2 separate regions of the Homo sapiens genome follow, and region 2 is linked to region 1. Evidence: promoter capture Hi-C in human tissues and cell types (Jung and others, 2019). All regions are on one chromosome and are shown on one strand. Each heading gives the region's core, a stretch centred on a gene start or on the middle of the fragment in contact. The rest is flanking DNA. Distances are from core to core; before and after follow the strand shown.

Region 1 (7,627 bases), core at 226-2,725:
TCAGCTCACTGCAACCTCCCCCTCCCTGTCCAAGGGATTCTGCTGCCTCAGCCTCCTGAGTAGCTGGGATTACAGGCGCCCGACATCACACCTGGCTAATTTCTGTATTTTATTCGACACGAGATTTCGCCATGTTGACTAGGCTGGTCTCGAACTCCTGACCTCAGGTGATCTGCCCGCCTTGGCCTCCCAAAGTGCTGGGATTACAGGCATGAGCCATTGCACACGGCCTTTATTTTTATTTATTTATTTTTTAATTAAGAAACAAGGCGGGCATGGTGGCTCATGCCTGTAATTCCAGCATTTTGGGAGGGCGATACAGCTGGATCGCTTGAGCCCTGGAGTTGGAGACCAGCCTGAGCAACAAGGCAAAAGCCCGTCTCTACCAAGTACACAAAAATTAGCGCGGTGTGGTGGCGCGCGGCTGTGGTCCCAGCTACTCTGCAGGCTGAGGTGACAGGATCGCTTGAGCATAGGATGTTGATGATGCAGTGAGCTGTGATCCTGTCACCGCTCTCCCGCCTGGGCAACAGAGTGAGACCCCATCTCCAATAAAAAAGAATAAAAAAGAAATACCTGGGTCCTGGGTCTGGGGGCAGCGAATCTAAGGCCAATTAAGGCAAACTTTCTAAAACTAGACAAAAAGGAAAAACCCCATCTCCCCATCCGGAGTAACAAAGGATCAAAGGCCGCTGTCCCTACCGCCCTCCTCCTTCCACCACGTCTCAGAAAGGGAAAGAGCCCAGGAGTGGCCATGGCCAAGCACCGGCCACACCTTCATCTGCATAGGGCACCCATCTGCTCCGGCCTCGGGCCAATTCACCTCAGCATTTCGTTGGCCAAGGGCCAAAAATCCTTCATCCAGATAAGGGGTAGCCCATAGGGACCTCAAAATAAATACTTTAACCCCCTAAAACTTTCTAAACGGGTCCCCGGAGACGCTGGCTCGGGCCCACTCCCCTCTGTGGAGTGCTTTCTTGATTGCATATATTCGTTTTCCAGGAGTTGGAACTAGGTAGCAACACCGCACAAGGAGGGAGGTGGGGAGCGACGGAGCCTTCGGACAGGGGTGGCGTCTGCAGGATCTTAGGACCAGGCAGAGGACGCGGCCTCCCGGGAACCGGGGTTGAGGCGCGGCGCTCCTGAAGCCGCCGAGAGCGACGGTGGGAGGCGCCTAGGGCTGGAATCCAGCTCGCGGGTGAGGACTTGAAACAGCGCGAGGCGGGAGGACAGGTCAGGAAGGGTTTTGAGAAGGAAAATTCCGCGATAGGAGGTGTCTGCACGACCCCACTGCAGAAAGACCGAGGACGGGACCTGCCTCAGGGCCACTTTAAACTCGAAGGGACTCACGGACTCTCACCCGGACGTCTCAATTTGCTCTGGGTTGAGAAAGAGGGGCCGCAATTTCCAGGTCTGTGGGGACTCAACGTCCCCGGTATAGCAGCACCACAGGACTGGGAAGCACACATAAAACAGAGCGAAACTCACGCGCTGTGGTGTGACCTTCAGTCCCTGCCATCCGCTTCCGGGTCTATGCCAATCAGCGCAGGACAGAGGCCAGGCCTGGGCGGGACCCCCGAGAAGGTAGGCGGGGCCTGGACTAGGCCGGGATGAGACGCGAAGAGGTGGGCGGGGCCTGAACAAGGCCGGGGCGGGGTTGAGAAACAAGGGGCCTGGCTGGGAGAAGAGTCCTGGGCTATGAGGGGTCGGCGGGGGCGAGAAGCGGGTGGGTCCTGAGCTTTCCTCCATCTCGCTCTCTGCGCCTTTTTTCCAGGTTTTGGAGGCGAAAGCCGCCAGTGAGGCTGGAGCAGCTCAGCAGTCATTGAAATAGTACCTCCCTGAGAAGTCAACGTGAGGCGGTCATTGGACCCAGGAAAGTTCCTTGCTATTGAAATTAATTTTAGCAATTTATGTCCAAAATCTGGAAGTTGTCAAGGGAAGGAATGCAAACTAGAATGCGAAATACAAAGCTCTGCCTCAGCGAAACCTCCAATTTCCTGCTGACGGCCCACAGAACAGAATAGCAAATCCTCTCCCTTTCTATTTTCCATTCACTGGGGTGGGAGAATCCACCCTGTGCTCAGCTCCAGAGACTTCCTCAGGGCCACCGCCTGGGGTGCGGAGCGGAGGCCTCAGGCCAGGGAGGAGTGAGGTCACCACCTCCTGCTTAAACACAGCAGGGATGTGGGCGAGGTGGCGAGTCTGGGGTCCCGGCTACTCAGGAAGCAGGAGCCGCAAGACCGCTGAGCCCGGAGGTCCAGGCCAGCGTGGGCGACAAAGTAAGACCCTCTACCCCAGAGCTCCTTCCTCCGCCTCAATAAGAAAAAAAGGGATTTTTAAAAAAAGCATTGACATTGTAACAGTGTGTAGCAGGGCTAGCGGCAGACAAAACTTCTCAGACACTGAGTTGTAGAAGGAAGGGCTTTATTCAGCTGGGAGCGTCAGCAATCTACTGCCTTGAAATCCGAGCTCCCTGAATGCACAATTTCTGTCCTTTTTAAGGGTTCACAACACTAAAGATTTCACATGAAAGGGTCGTGATTGATTTGAGCGAGCAGGCGGTACGTGACAGGGGATGCATGCACCGGTGGTCAGAGAGAAACAGAACAGAGCGGGGAGTTTTACAATGTTCTTCTATACAATGTCTGGAATCTATGAATAACATTGGGTTCTAAGCCATAAGTTGATTTTTAACTACTGGGTTTAGGCCAGGCAGGCCCAGGCCTGGTTTCGGGCCTGGCCCCGGGGCTGCCTGTCTTTGGTTTTACTTTCTTGTTGTTTTTTCTTAAAACAGGTACTGAGTATAAAACAATATGAGAGGGTCTCTGTCTTCCTTTATTTCTTCTTTTTGAGAGTCTCACTTTTTATTAGTGGGAGTTCTTACTCTTGTTTTTGCTACTTATGTCTTTTTGTGTAATAGATTGATAGTGATTCATATAGTACACTTGTGCTGAATCATTTTGGTGAACTAAGGTAGCGATGAAGCTTTTTATCATTTGAAGAGGTACAGGTAGCAAACAAGAGAGCAGTAAGCAGCTTTTTATTACTATTATAACTCTTATTATAAGAGTTTTAAATCCTCCTATTGCTGGGAACTAATTTTTAAACATGGCTCCTGGATTGAGTCCGTGCCACACCTGTACGGGTACATGTGTCAGTTTTGTTATATTTTTAACTATGTCTTCAACTACTTTCCTCTGATGATCTATGTGTAGACAACAATTAGTAAGGTTAAATTTTCTACAAACTTTTCCTTCAGCTGCTAGCAAGTAGTCGAGAGCTAGTCTATTTTGATAGATAGCATTTCTTTTTCTTTTTTTGGTGATGGAGTCTCGCTCTGTCACCCAGGCTGGAGTGCAGTGGTGCAGTCTCAGCTCACTGCAAGCTCCACCTCCCGGGTTCACGCCATTCTCCTGCCTCAGCCTCCCTAGTAGCTGGGACTACAGGTGCTGCCACCGCACCCGGCTAATTTTTTGTATTTTTAGTAGAGACGGGGTTTCACTGTGTTAGCCAGGATGGTCTTGATCTCCTGACTTTGTGATCTGCCCGCCTCAGTCTCCCAAAGTGCTGGGATTACAGGCGTGAGCCACCGCGCCCGGTGATAGATAGCATTTCTTATCAGAGTCTCTTGCCGGGCAAGAACAGTCAAGGCTTGACCGGTTTTATTAGTAATAATTTTTAAAACAGCTTGCAACTGTATGATTCGGTTGAGCATGTAGATGGGGGTTCGATAACCTCATGAGCTGTCTTGTGTCTAAGTGGCAGGCTTACAGTATTATATAATTCTTTAGGAGGTCATTTATCATCTTTCTAATTACCTATGGCTATGCTTCGTTTTTCACAGGAAGCATAGACTGGGAAGCCTAGAAGTTCACCTGTATTTATGGGCAGTAAGAGGAAAGATGGCTTACTGGTGCCAATTACACAGCTACCTGTCCACTGATCAGGCAGCTTAGCATGAGCTCTGTCTATGTATCTGGTATAACCTGGTGGGGGCCGTCTAGTCCTGGTGGAATTCCGGGTGGGCCTCAACAGTCTGCAACTTTGGAAATTTACTGAATGGATTTCTTTTTGTGTAACTGGAACTTTAGTATGTAACTGTTTTTGTGGTACTATTATACAACTTTTGCCTAAGACAACTAAGCCGCCTTACAGGATGATGAGTGAATTTTTTTCTTTCTCTAGCTATGCAATACCGTCTAATAATTGAGACTTTTAGAACTTAAAAATTGTCAGGGTGGTTCTTTTGGGCTGGGAATTCATCAGGAACTGGGTTTGTAGGAACTAATTCTCGGGCTTCCTATGGCCATTGATCTCTTGTTACAGTTCTTCTACAAACATAACATGAGGTGACTTGTAGAGACTGGGCCTCATGTTAGGCTAATTGCAAAAACAAATTTTTAGTTTTTCCTGGAATCTTAGGTACTGGCACATTTATTTCATCATAGAAAGCCTGAAATACTGGTTCTGGAGAGCATTTTTCAACTTCTTTTTTTATTAGGATGTTTACGCTAGGATCTAGTTTTTTTTCATCAATGCTTAATTTACATTTTTTTTTTAATTGTACTTTGGGTCTGATGGGTTTGTGATTATCAATTTTAAAAGGCTGCAGCCCCCACTCATGCAAGAGGGGCTGACTTTTCTTTTTTGGAGCTAAACAGGATTATTTTTATCTTCTTTTTAAGTAGCCCAAATGACATAAGACTAGTATTGACACATCTCACATAAATATGATTCTTGACAGATATACTTATTTTTTTTTTTAACTGTGTAACTTTTTTTCTAATTTAGAGAACTGCATCTTATTCTATGCTGCTTACTATCAATAGTGGCACAAGCATCAAATTTTAAGGTTATATTTTTGGGGACCCCTCTTCTGTTCTAGCTATTATTTTACTTGTGTCACTTAGAAAAAGACTAGTCTTTAATTTTATTTTAAAAACTGTAATCATGGGAGGCTTAAAATGGGTTATAACACACATCAGGTTGGTTATTCCTTGGGCTACATACTTTGGATAGAATAGCATTATACAAACAAATTTCTTTTAGAATCCTGGTACACTTATAATAACTATAAAATAATAGGACTGTAGCAATCTTTTGTCTAACTTCAGTGACTTGATGTAGATACTGGAAACAGTTCTTTGTCTGAGGAAGGTCAGTTGAAGTCCTTACTGTACAAGTCTAAATTTTAAGGAAAATGAGTCCTGCGATGAGTTTCTTCCTGCTTCAGTCGTGCGTGGACCAGTCAGCTTCCGGGTGTGACTGCAGCAGGGCTTGTCATCTTCTTCAGAGTCACTTTGCAGGGGTTGGCGAAGCTGCTCTTATCTACGTACAGCTCCTAGTCTACTGATGTTTAAGGGTGGTCTCAGAGGTTGGGCCCACTAGAATAAACTGAGTCCAGCACCTCTAAACAGTTATGTTTAACTGGGCTCTTTGATACTAGGAGTAAGGTGGCGGGGTTAGGGTGTTGCAAACTTCAATGGTTATGTGGGGATTTTCACAGAGCAAGCTTTGGTATCTAGTTAGTCTAGCGTTTATTAGCTAATGATGTCTTTTGTTATTTATTAAAGGGACTTTATGTTTATGTTTTGCCTAAGAGTTAGCTTATCTGCTTCTTGTGCTAACAGGGCCATTGCTGCCAGGGCCCTTGGACATGGGGGCCAGCCTTGGGAAACCTCGTCTAGTTGTTTTGAGAGTCAGGCTACTGGCCTTGGCCAGGGCCTTACAGTCTGGGTTAAAACTTCAACTGCCATTTTTTTTTTTCTTTCTGACACATAGAGTGCAAAGAGTTTTGTCAGGTCAGGTAGCCTCAGGGCTGGGGCTGACATGAGTTTTTCTTTTTTTTTTTTCTGGTTGATGAAATACCAGGGTGAAATGGACTAAACCATAAGTGCCACTCTAGTTATTCGGCAGAGTGCCTACTAAAGGTCTACTACAATACCACCACACATCTGCTCAGAGATGAACAAGGGCTGACCGATTGATAAGCTCTTGAAAATTCTTAAGCTCACTGCATCCTTTCAGGTCTCCAAGGAATGCTAAATCTCCTCTCTGCCGTGAGATACAAGAAGTGAACTTAGTATTGGGAGACGGAAGCTGGAAGGCCCTCGGGGGCTGATCCGCAGGGACTTCGGGATATAGCAGAGAGAGCTATATGTTACTCCAGGCTGTAGAATCCTGGAAAAGAGCTACCATGCAGCCCACACCTGGTCAACTACAGGACCACCTTAGTGGAAGGGGGACAATCAGGGCCTCTGGCCTGCCATGTGCACAAGCATAACAATTGCTTTTGTTTAATGTGCAGATGGAATATTTGATCTATTTCAACCAGGCATTTGCATCTTGGTATGCTGTCTCAATTGCCAAAGTTTGTTTTAAGTCTTTAACTTCTATCATCCTCTAGTAAAATGAATGCTTCCTTTAGCACCGATTTTTATTAGTTTTTAGACCAAAGAAAGCTGAACACCATTTTATATTTAATAATGCTTCTTGTATGATTTTTATACCAGATAAGCTAAATTTTACTTTTATATTAGTGTGTTACTAATGTTAAATTTAATTTTAATGAAACTTTGTAGACATATTTATCTAATTTTTCATGTTTGACCATAAGGTTAGATTTTGTAGACTCTTTTTAACTTTTTGTAATTTTTGTTAAAGAGCAGGTTGATGCTTTAAGAAAAAACCTGTTGCATTTTTACTTTGATGTCCGTTTCACAGAAAAACTGGATGATACCTTTTTAACTTTAGCTAATATGTTTACACACAGAATTTTCTTTACAATTAATGTTTTAAAACTTGCTTAAACTTTCAAACAATAATTTTTTTAACTTTTTAATATAGGTAAAAATCCACATTCTTATGCCTCCTTATAATCTTTTTACTATAGGTATATTTTACTTTTCTTATACACCTTGTACATAAACTGTTTCTTCAATAATAGGAGGCCTTATTACTTTTAAATTATACATTTTTTGCATAAAAAAATTTTTTAAAGCAAACTTTATGTCTTTGGACTAGACTGTCTAAGGCTACCAGATTAGAAGTTACTATAATACATGCTACGCTGTTAACTTTTAGCAAACTTCACTTTTGTTGAAAACCTTGTAAGTTTGGGACTTCAATTATCCTTTGCTATTAATAAGACCTTGTTTAGTCTAAATTAACTTAGAATTGGTATAGATGGCCTCTTTTTCTCTCTGCTGGTCTTTTCTTGCCTCTGCCAGCCACTTATGCTGCTGTTCTTTTAACTACTGTGGGGGGCGGGGGGAGGAGGTCTAAAACCAGGTGTAACTGTCTGTGTACTGAAACTGGTCTGGGTGCCTTGGCTTACAGGTTACCTTGTGCCATATCTTTGAAACTAGGGACCCATCCAGGCTTCCTTCTGATGGCTAACCTACCTCAAATGCTGGCCAGTCTATTTCACACAAAGTTCTAAGTTTTCCTGGGGTCACAGTTACACCATAATCTCCTTTAAATTCTTTCTTGAAATTCTTTAACATATTTCTTAGTGGGGTGGGCTTACTTTGTGCCTGAACTATGTTTTTTTTTTCTTCTGAGACAAAATGCCATGCTCACACCACACATACTCACCACAAGAATGGGTAAAGAGGGCACACACACG
Region 2 (7,533 bases), core at 1,735-4,234, 200 kb before region 1:
ATATCTGTAGGAATGCAGGCATGCTCAGATGCAGCCACTATGGCACTCTTTATACAGAGAAAAATTGCAAAGGACCCACATACTGTCATTCAGCCAATTTCCAATGCAGATGTCAAAGAGCAAGCTAGCCATGTTTACTAACATAACAACATGTAAATTTTCACAACTAGCAGGATGAAATATCAAAGTAAAATATTTACTAAAACACAAAGAAAACAATAGACGCTGGGGTCTAGGTGAGGGTGGAGATGGGGAGGAGAGAGGAGCAGAAAAAATAGCTAATGGGGCTGGGCACAGTGGCTCACGCCTGTAATCCCAGCACTTTGCTAGGGCAAGGGGGTTGGATCACCTGAGGTCAGGAGTTCAAGATCAGCCTGGCCAACATGGTGAAACCCTGTCTCTACTAAAAGTACAAACATTAGCCAGGCATGGAGGCATGTGCTTGTAATCCCAGCTACTCAGGAGGCTGAGGCAGGAGAGTTGCTTGAACCCAGGAGGCAGAGGTTGCAGTGAGCCGAGATCATGCCATCATACTCCAGACTCAAAAAACGAGCAAAACTCAGTGTCAAAAAAAAAAGAAAAGAAAAAAAGCTACTGGGTACTGGGCTTGATACCGGTGTACAACAAACTCCAATGACATGAGTTTGCCTATGTAACAAACCATCACATGTAGCCCCAATCCTAAAGTAAAAACATAACTATAAAACATTTTATTTTTTTAATTTACTACGGAATTATTTTTAAAGTCTCATAATGATGCAGAAATACAGGTGTACAAGACTTGCTCTGACACTTGGCACAGAACTGACAGTAGCGGCTCCCCAGTGAGTTTGGAAAGAGGGTGGAGGACGTGACAGGGAAAGGAGATGCTTTGTGGCAAAGGGTCTGCAGCTTTGCTAAGAGTTTTACTAGAAAACAAATATATCCATCCTGTGATGTTTAAATATCAAAATATATATTTAATAAACATTGGTAGAGCTGAGCACGGTGGCTCGTGCCTGTAATCCCAGCACTCTGGGAGGCTGAGGTGGGTGGATAACCTGAGGTCAGAACTTTGAGGCCACCCTGGCCAACATGGTGAAACCCCATCTCTACTAAAAATACAAAAAAATTAGCCGGGCGTGGTGGCACACGCCTATAACCCCAGCTACTTGGGAGGCTGAGGCAGGAGAATCACTTGAACCCAGAAGACAGAGGTTGCAGTAAACTGAGATCATGTCACTGCACTCCAGCTTGGGTGGCAGAGGCTGACTCCATCTCAAAAAATAAATTGTAACCATTTTTACCAAAAACACCTGTTTCACAAGCCTCTCCACAGTAACCCCACAGTCTCCATGAGCTTAATGTGTTAAGAATGGTTTAATGAATCTCCTGCTATTATTTAGGTTGATTTCCTATTCTTAAACTAATGATGGAATAAAACACCTTCTATCATTCATGTCTGTGTATGAACTTTCCACTCTAATTAGTTCGATTTTTGGAGCCAGAAACACAATAACTCACTCAATTACCTAAAAATGTAGTATGAAAGTGAAGCGGTGGGTTGCCCCTCCACACCTGTGGGTGTTTCTCGTTAGGTGGAATGAGAGACTTGGAAAAGAAAAAGACACAGAGACAAAGTGTAGAGAAAGAAATAAGGGGGCCCAGGGGACCAGGGTTCAGCATATGGAGGATCCCGCCAGCCTCTGAGTTCCCTTCATATTTATTGATCATTTTGGGGTGTTTCTCAGAGAGGGGGATGTGGCAGGGTCATAGGATAATAGTGGAGAGAAGGTCAGCAGATAAACACGTGAACAAAGGTCTCTGCATCATAGACAAGGTAAAAAATCAAGTGCTGTGCTTTAGATATGCATACACATAAACATCTCAATGCCTTACAGAGCAGTATTGCTGCCCGCATGTCCCACCTCCAGCCCTAAGGTGGTTTTCCCCTATCTCAGTAGATGGAACATACAATCGGGTTTTATACCGAGACATTCCATTGCCCAGGGACGGGCAGGAGACGGATGCCTTCCTCTTGTCTCAATTGCAAGAGGCGTGCCTTCCTCTTATACTAATCCTCCTCAGCACAGACCCTTTACGGGTGTCGGGCTGGGAGACGGTCAGGTCTTTCCCTTCCCATGAGGCCATATTTCAGACTATCACATGGGGAGAAACCTTGGACAATACCTGGCTTTCCTAGGCAGAGGTCCCTGCGGCCTTCCGCAGTGTTTGTGTCTCTGGGTACTTAAGATTAGGGAGTGGTGATGACTCTTAAGGAGCATGCTGCCTTCAAGCGTCTGTTTAACAAAGCACATCTTGCACCGCCCTTAATCCATTTAACCCTGAGTGGACACAGCACATGTTTCAGAGAGCATGGGGTTGGGGGTAAGGTCATAGATTAACAGCATCTCAAGGCAGAAGAATTTGTCTTAGTACAGAACAAAATGGAGTCTCCTATGTCTACTTCTTTCTACACAGACACAGTAACAATCTGATCTCTCTTTCTTTTCCCCACATGAAAGCAGGCAGAAAAGATTTTCACTTATTGGTTTCCTTTTCTAGAATTTACCACGTACTTTGTGCACATTAATACGTGACTTCCATTGGCAGCTGCTCTAATCCTGCTCCACAGAGAGCTGACAGTGCATCCATATGTGGCCCCTGAACAATCCCTTCTGCCCAACAGCACTGACACCACGGGACCCTCACCCCGTCTCCATCCATGTCTGGGTGTGAGCCCTTCCCAGGCCCATGCCCAGTGCAGCCTCTTTCCAACTTCATGTCACTAGGTCACCAGAGATGGAATCTAAGCGAGATGAGAGGGACTGAGGGAAGGCATGGGTGAGTGTGAGTAAACGTATCAGGCAGGAAGCTTCAGACTCAGAGAAGATTCCCAACTCCAAGGCCCAGGGTTTCTGAAAGGAAGGAGACAGAACAATCCACCGAGAATATCATCTCACCTGAGGAAGAGCCATCCCTGACTCCTTTGCTTTCCTCTTCCTCTTCCGGGTTTCTTCCTCATGTACCAAGAGTCTTTAGGAGTCAATCCTGAATGTTAAAAATATGTTGTTTGTTGCTCAGAATCAACACACCCCCTCCCTGGAACACAACCACACATGCGAAGTGTCACGCACGTCTGTGGGAAGAGGCCACCAAACACGCTTTGTGTGAGCAACGAGGCTGTTTATTTCACCTGGGTGCAGCCGGGCTGAGTCTGGAAAGAGAGTCAGCAAAGTGTGGTGGGATTATCATTAGTTCTCATAGGTTTTGGGACAGGCGGTGGAGTTAGGGGCAATGCTTTGCAGGCAGGGGGTGGATCTCACCAAGTCCATTCTCAAGGGTGGGGAGGATTACAAAGAGCCTTCTGAAGGGTGGGGGAGATTACAAAGCACATTGATCAGTCAGGGTAGGGCAGAAACAAATCACAATATTGGAATGTCATCAGTTAAGGATATTTTTACAGTTGCTTCAGGCTATCTGGATGTATACGTGCAGGTCACAGGGGATATGATGGCTTAGCTTGGGCTCAGAGGCCTAACTAAAGACCTCACCCTGAGGAAATAGTGCCCCCTGCTGCCCTCCTCACCATGGATGATAAACTCCTACAGGGAAACTCCCGCTCCCCTTCTGGAGGAGTCCACACACAAGCTGCAGCAGTGGGGAGCTGGGCTGGAATGAGCTCCCCTTCAGGGCACAGACCCAGCCCTGACGAAACCCCACGCAGAGGCTGGGTGCGGTGGCTCATGCCTGTCATCCCAGCACTCTAGGAGGCTGTGGCAGGTAGATCGCTTGAACTCAGGAGTTTGAGAACAGCCTGAGCAACATGGTGAAACCCCATCTCTACCAAAAATACAAAACTTCGCCAGGTATGGTGGTGCACGTCTGTGTGTCTGTGGTCCCAGCTACTTAGGAGGCATAGGTGGGAGGATCACTTGACCTGAGGAGTTTGAGAGCAGCCTGGCCAACATGGTGAAACCCTGTATCTACTAAAAATACAAAAATGGGCCGGGCGTGTGGGTCATCCGGTAATCCTAGCACTCTGGAAGGCCGAGGTGTGCTGATTACTTGAGGTCAGGAGATCGAGACCAGCCTGGCCAACATGGTGAAACGCTGTCTCTACTAAATACACAAAAAGTAGCCGGGCTTGGTAAGTGTCTGTAATCTCTGCTATTCAGGAGACTGAGGTAGGAGAATTGCTTGAACCCGGGAGGTGGAGGTCGCAGTGAGCCGAGATGGCGCCACTACACTCCAGTCTTGGTGACAGACAGACTCAAAAATAATATAAAATGGAAGTTAAAATACAAAAATTAGCCGGGTGTGGTGGCAGACACACCAGCTACTTGGGAGGCTGAGGCACCAGAATTGCTTGAACCCAGCAGACAGAGGTTGCAGTGAGCCAAGATCAAGAGGCTGCACTCATAGGCTGAAAGATAGAGTGACTCTGTCTCAAAAAAAAAAAAAAAAAAAAAATGCATTTCTGATGTGATTGATGCAGACAATGAATCCTGAGTAACGTGATACAGACTGATGGACAAGGGAACTACAGCCGGGGGTGGGAGGGCATGGGCGACAGCTCTGAGCCTAGACCTGAAGGAGGAGAAAGTGACAGGGTACGTAGGGTAAAACCAGGGACAACGACCTGAGACAGGAAGGGTTTTGATGTTTGGGAAAAGAGAAAAGCAAATATGACTGGGGCGGAGAGAGTCATGAGATGAGGGCAAGCTCCCAGGAGGAGGCTGGACAGTGGAAGGGGCCCTGGACACAGGGCTGTGGAGCCACAGTGAGGGGTTGGGCTTTTGTCCTGGGGAACACGGGAAGCTGGTGGAGGGTTCCCTGTCAGGGACTGACATGACCTGCTTTAGATTTTGTTGTGATGTCCTCATACAGAGAAAGGCCCCGAAGATGGTCTCTGTGTCTGAGTCTACCTCTGTTTCTTCCATTCTTCTGCTTTTGTTTTTCATTTTTAGGGCACTGCATCCCATTGAAAATTCTAATCACAACTGGGCACTCCTCTCCTCAAAAAAATTTAAAAAAAAAGCCACACCCACACACGCACTCCATTTTGTCAATCATTTCAGGGGTCAAAGTCACTAGGGTTGAGCTTTTCTGGTGTAGCCCCTCATCGCCAAGTTCCAAGGAGGCTCACTGGGGCTCAGATTGGAAGACATTTTCACCAAGTTGCCCTGAGAAGGTCTGAGATGAGTGAGGTGTGCCTGAATTCTTACATGGGGGCCTGCAGGGACTAATGGGAAGGGTTGATCTTATCACCCCCATCCTGGAAAATTAGAGAAGGCTCTTTCACAAACCTGGGCTAAAGAAATTTCTTTTGCCGGGCACGGTGGCTCAAGCCTGTAATCCCAGCACTTTGGGAGGCTGAGGCGGGTGGATCACCTGAGGTCAGGAGTTTGAGGCCAGCCTGACCAACACGGAGAAACCCCGTCTCTATAAAAATACAAAATTAGCTAGGAGTGGTAGTGCATGCCTCTAATCCCAGGTACTTGGGAGGCTAAGGAAGGAGAATCACTTGAACCCGGGAGACGGAGGTTGCAGTGAGCCGAGATCGTGCCACTGCACTCAAGCCTGGGGGACAAGAGCGAAACTCCGTCTCCAAAAAAAAAAAAGAAAAGAAAAAAAAGAAACAAACTTCTTTTGCAAGGTTCTGAGGCCATTGACTCCTGACAGTTTGTTCTTCCTTACAAGAAAATCACAGTAACATTTATAAAATGCAGAGTTGTGAACACATAGCTATTGACCTTGGAAACAGGGAAAGAAGGTCAGGTGTACAACTAAGACATAAGCAAATTGTTTCAATCAAGAATACATGAGTGGTCAGGCACGGTGGCTCACGCCTGTAATCCCAGCACTTTGGGAGGTCGAGGTGGGCAGATCACCAGAAGTCAGTAGTTTGAGACCAGCCTGGCCAACACAGTGAGAGCCTGTCTCTACTGACAATGCAAAAACCTAGCCAGGAGTGGTGGAGGGCACCTGTAATCCCAACTACTTGGTAGGCTGAGGCAGGAGAATCACTTGAACCCAGGAGGCAGACGTTGTAGTGACACCAGATCGCACCATTGCAGTCCAGCCTGGGCAACAAGAGCAAAACTCCATCTCAAAAAAAAACCCCCAAAAAAACAAAAAGAAAAACAAAAAAAAAACCGAGGCTGGGAGCAGTGGCTCACACCTGTAATCTCATCACATTGGGAGGCCAAGTCGGGTGGATCACAAGGTCAGGATTTGAGACCAGCCTGACAAACGTGATGAAACCCCGTCTCTACTAAAAATACAAAAATTAGCCAGGCATGCTGGTGGGTGCCTGTAATTCCAGCTACTCAGGAGACTGAGGCAGGAGCATCACTTGATCCCAGGAGGCAGAGGTTGCAGTGAGCTGAGATTGCACCACTGCCCTCCATCCAAGGCGACAGAGCAAGATTCCATTTCAAAAAAGAAAAGAAAAGAATACACGGGTGCTTTTGGAGGAGCGTTCTATGCCAATCCAGCCCATGTTTCAACATTTTTCCAGAATGGACCAGAGGGCCTTGAGGGAAACACGCAATAAATAGCTCCCAGATCAAGATTTTAACAAAGGACATAAGGAAAGAAAACTGAAAAACAGACTAACTGGTTAAAGTACATTTTGATGTTTAGTTAAAAGGCCACTGACATATTTACCAAGTACACACTGAAACAATCAAACTTAAGTTTAGGTACCAAAGGTTTTCAATAAATAACAAAGACTAGAAAGCATGCAGACATTGATATGAACTGGATGCAACTAATTTAAAACAGCAACTATTTTGAAATTGTTTTTTAAAAAAATCTAACGAATTCTGGGGTCAACCGGAAAATAACTGGAAAATATACAAGTACAGAAACGAATGATGTGAGCTGATTATAGGATGCTGCAAAGGCATCTTTCAGAAGTCATTATGTATTAAGAAATACAACTTTTATAACTTAGATTTATCTCAAACTCAAACTGCAAAATAAATAAATAAATAAATAAAAAATAAAGAGAGAAATGAAGAGGAACCAGAAAGAAAAAGAAGGAAGTCCATTATACGAGAAGAAAAGCATTTTTGAGGTCTTTTTTTGTTATTTTTTGTTTGTTTGAGATGGAGACTCACTCTGCCACCCAGGCTGCAGTATAGTGGCACAATTTTGGTTCACTGCAACTTCTACCTCCTAGGTTTAAGCAATTCTCATGCCCCAGCCTCCCAAGTAGCTGGAACTAAAGGTGCACACCAACACCCCCGGCTAACTTTTGTATTTTTAGTAGAGATGGGGTTTCACCATGTTAGGGTGCTTTTGAAATTGTGACCTTAGGTGACCAGTTCACATGGGTCGACCAAAGTACTCTGATTGCAGGGATGAGCCACCACGTACCGAGGCTTTGATATCCTTTTTTTTTTTTTTTTTTTTGAGATAGACTCTCACTCTGTCGCCCAGGCTGGAGCCCAGTGGTGCGATCTCGACTCCCTGCAAGCTCCGCCTCACAGGTTCATGCCATTCTCCTGCCTCAGCATCTGGAGTAGCTGGGACTACAGGCGCCAG

What was found. The method cuts DNA at HindIII sites, captures the fragments that hold promoters and counts their contacts. A contact is called where the count stands out against the background at its distance.
Region 2: a fragment that was not itself captured here is called in contact with the fragment with the promoter of ZNF320 in region 1 in 1 of the 25 tissues and cell types used here (liver).

What each region holds. Positions count from the first base shown.
Region 1 is chr19:52,896,160-52,903,786 of GRCh38, forward strand. ZNF320 (zinc finger protein 320) reads right to left here and starts at 1,476. Exons shown (of 6, transcript NM_001351774.2): 1 at 1,361-1,476. RefSeq lists enhancers at 1,011-1,210, 1,411-1,490. The HindIII fragment of the contact is 8,369 bases long and covers 1-4,248 here.
Region 2 is chr19:52,696,209-52,703,741 of GRCh38, forward strand. ZNF611 (zinc finger protein 611) reads right to left here. Exons shown (of 6, transcript NM_001161499.2): 6 at 6,605-7,533. Among named protein-coding and RNA genes, the nearest start is that of ZNF611, 35 kb to the right of the region's middle. RefSeq lists enhancers at 1-733, 1,545-2,355, 2,356-3,166. The HindIII fragment of the contact is 5,162 bases long and covers 404-5,565 here.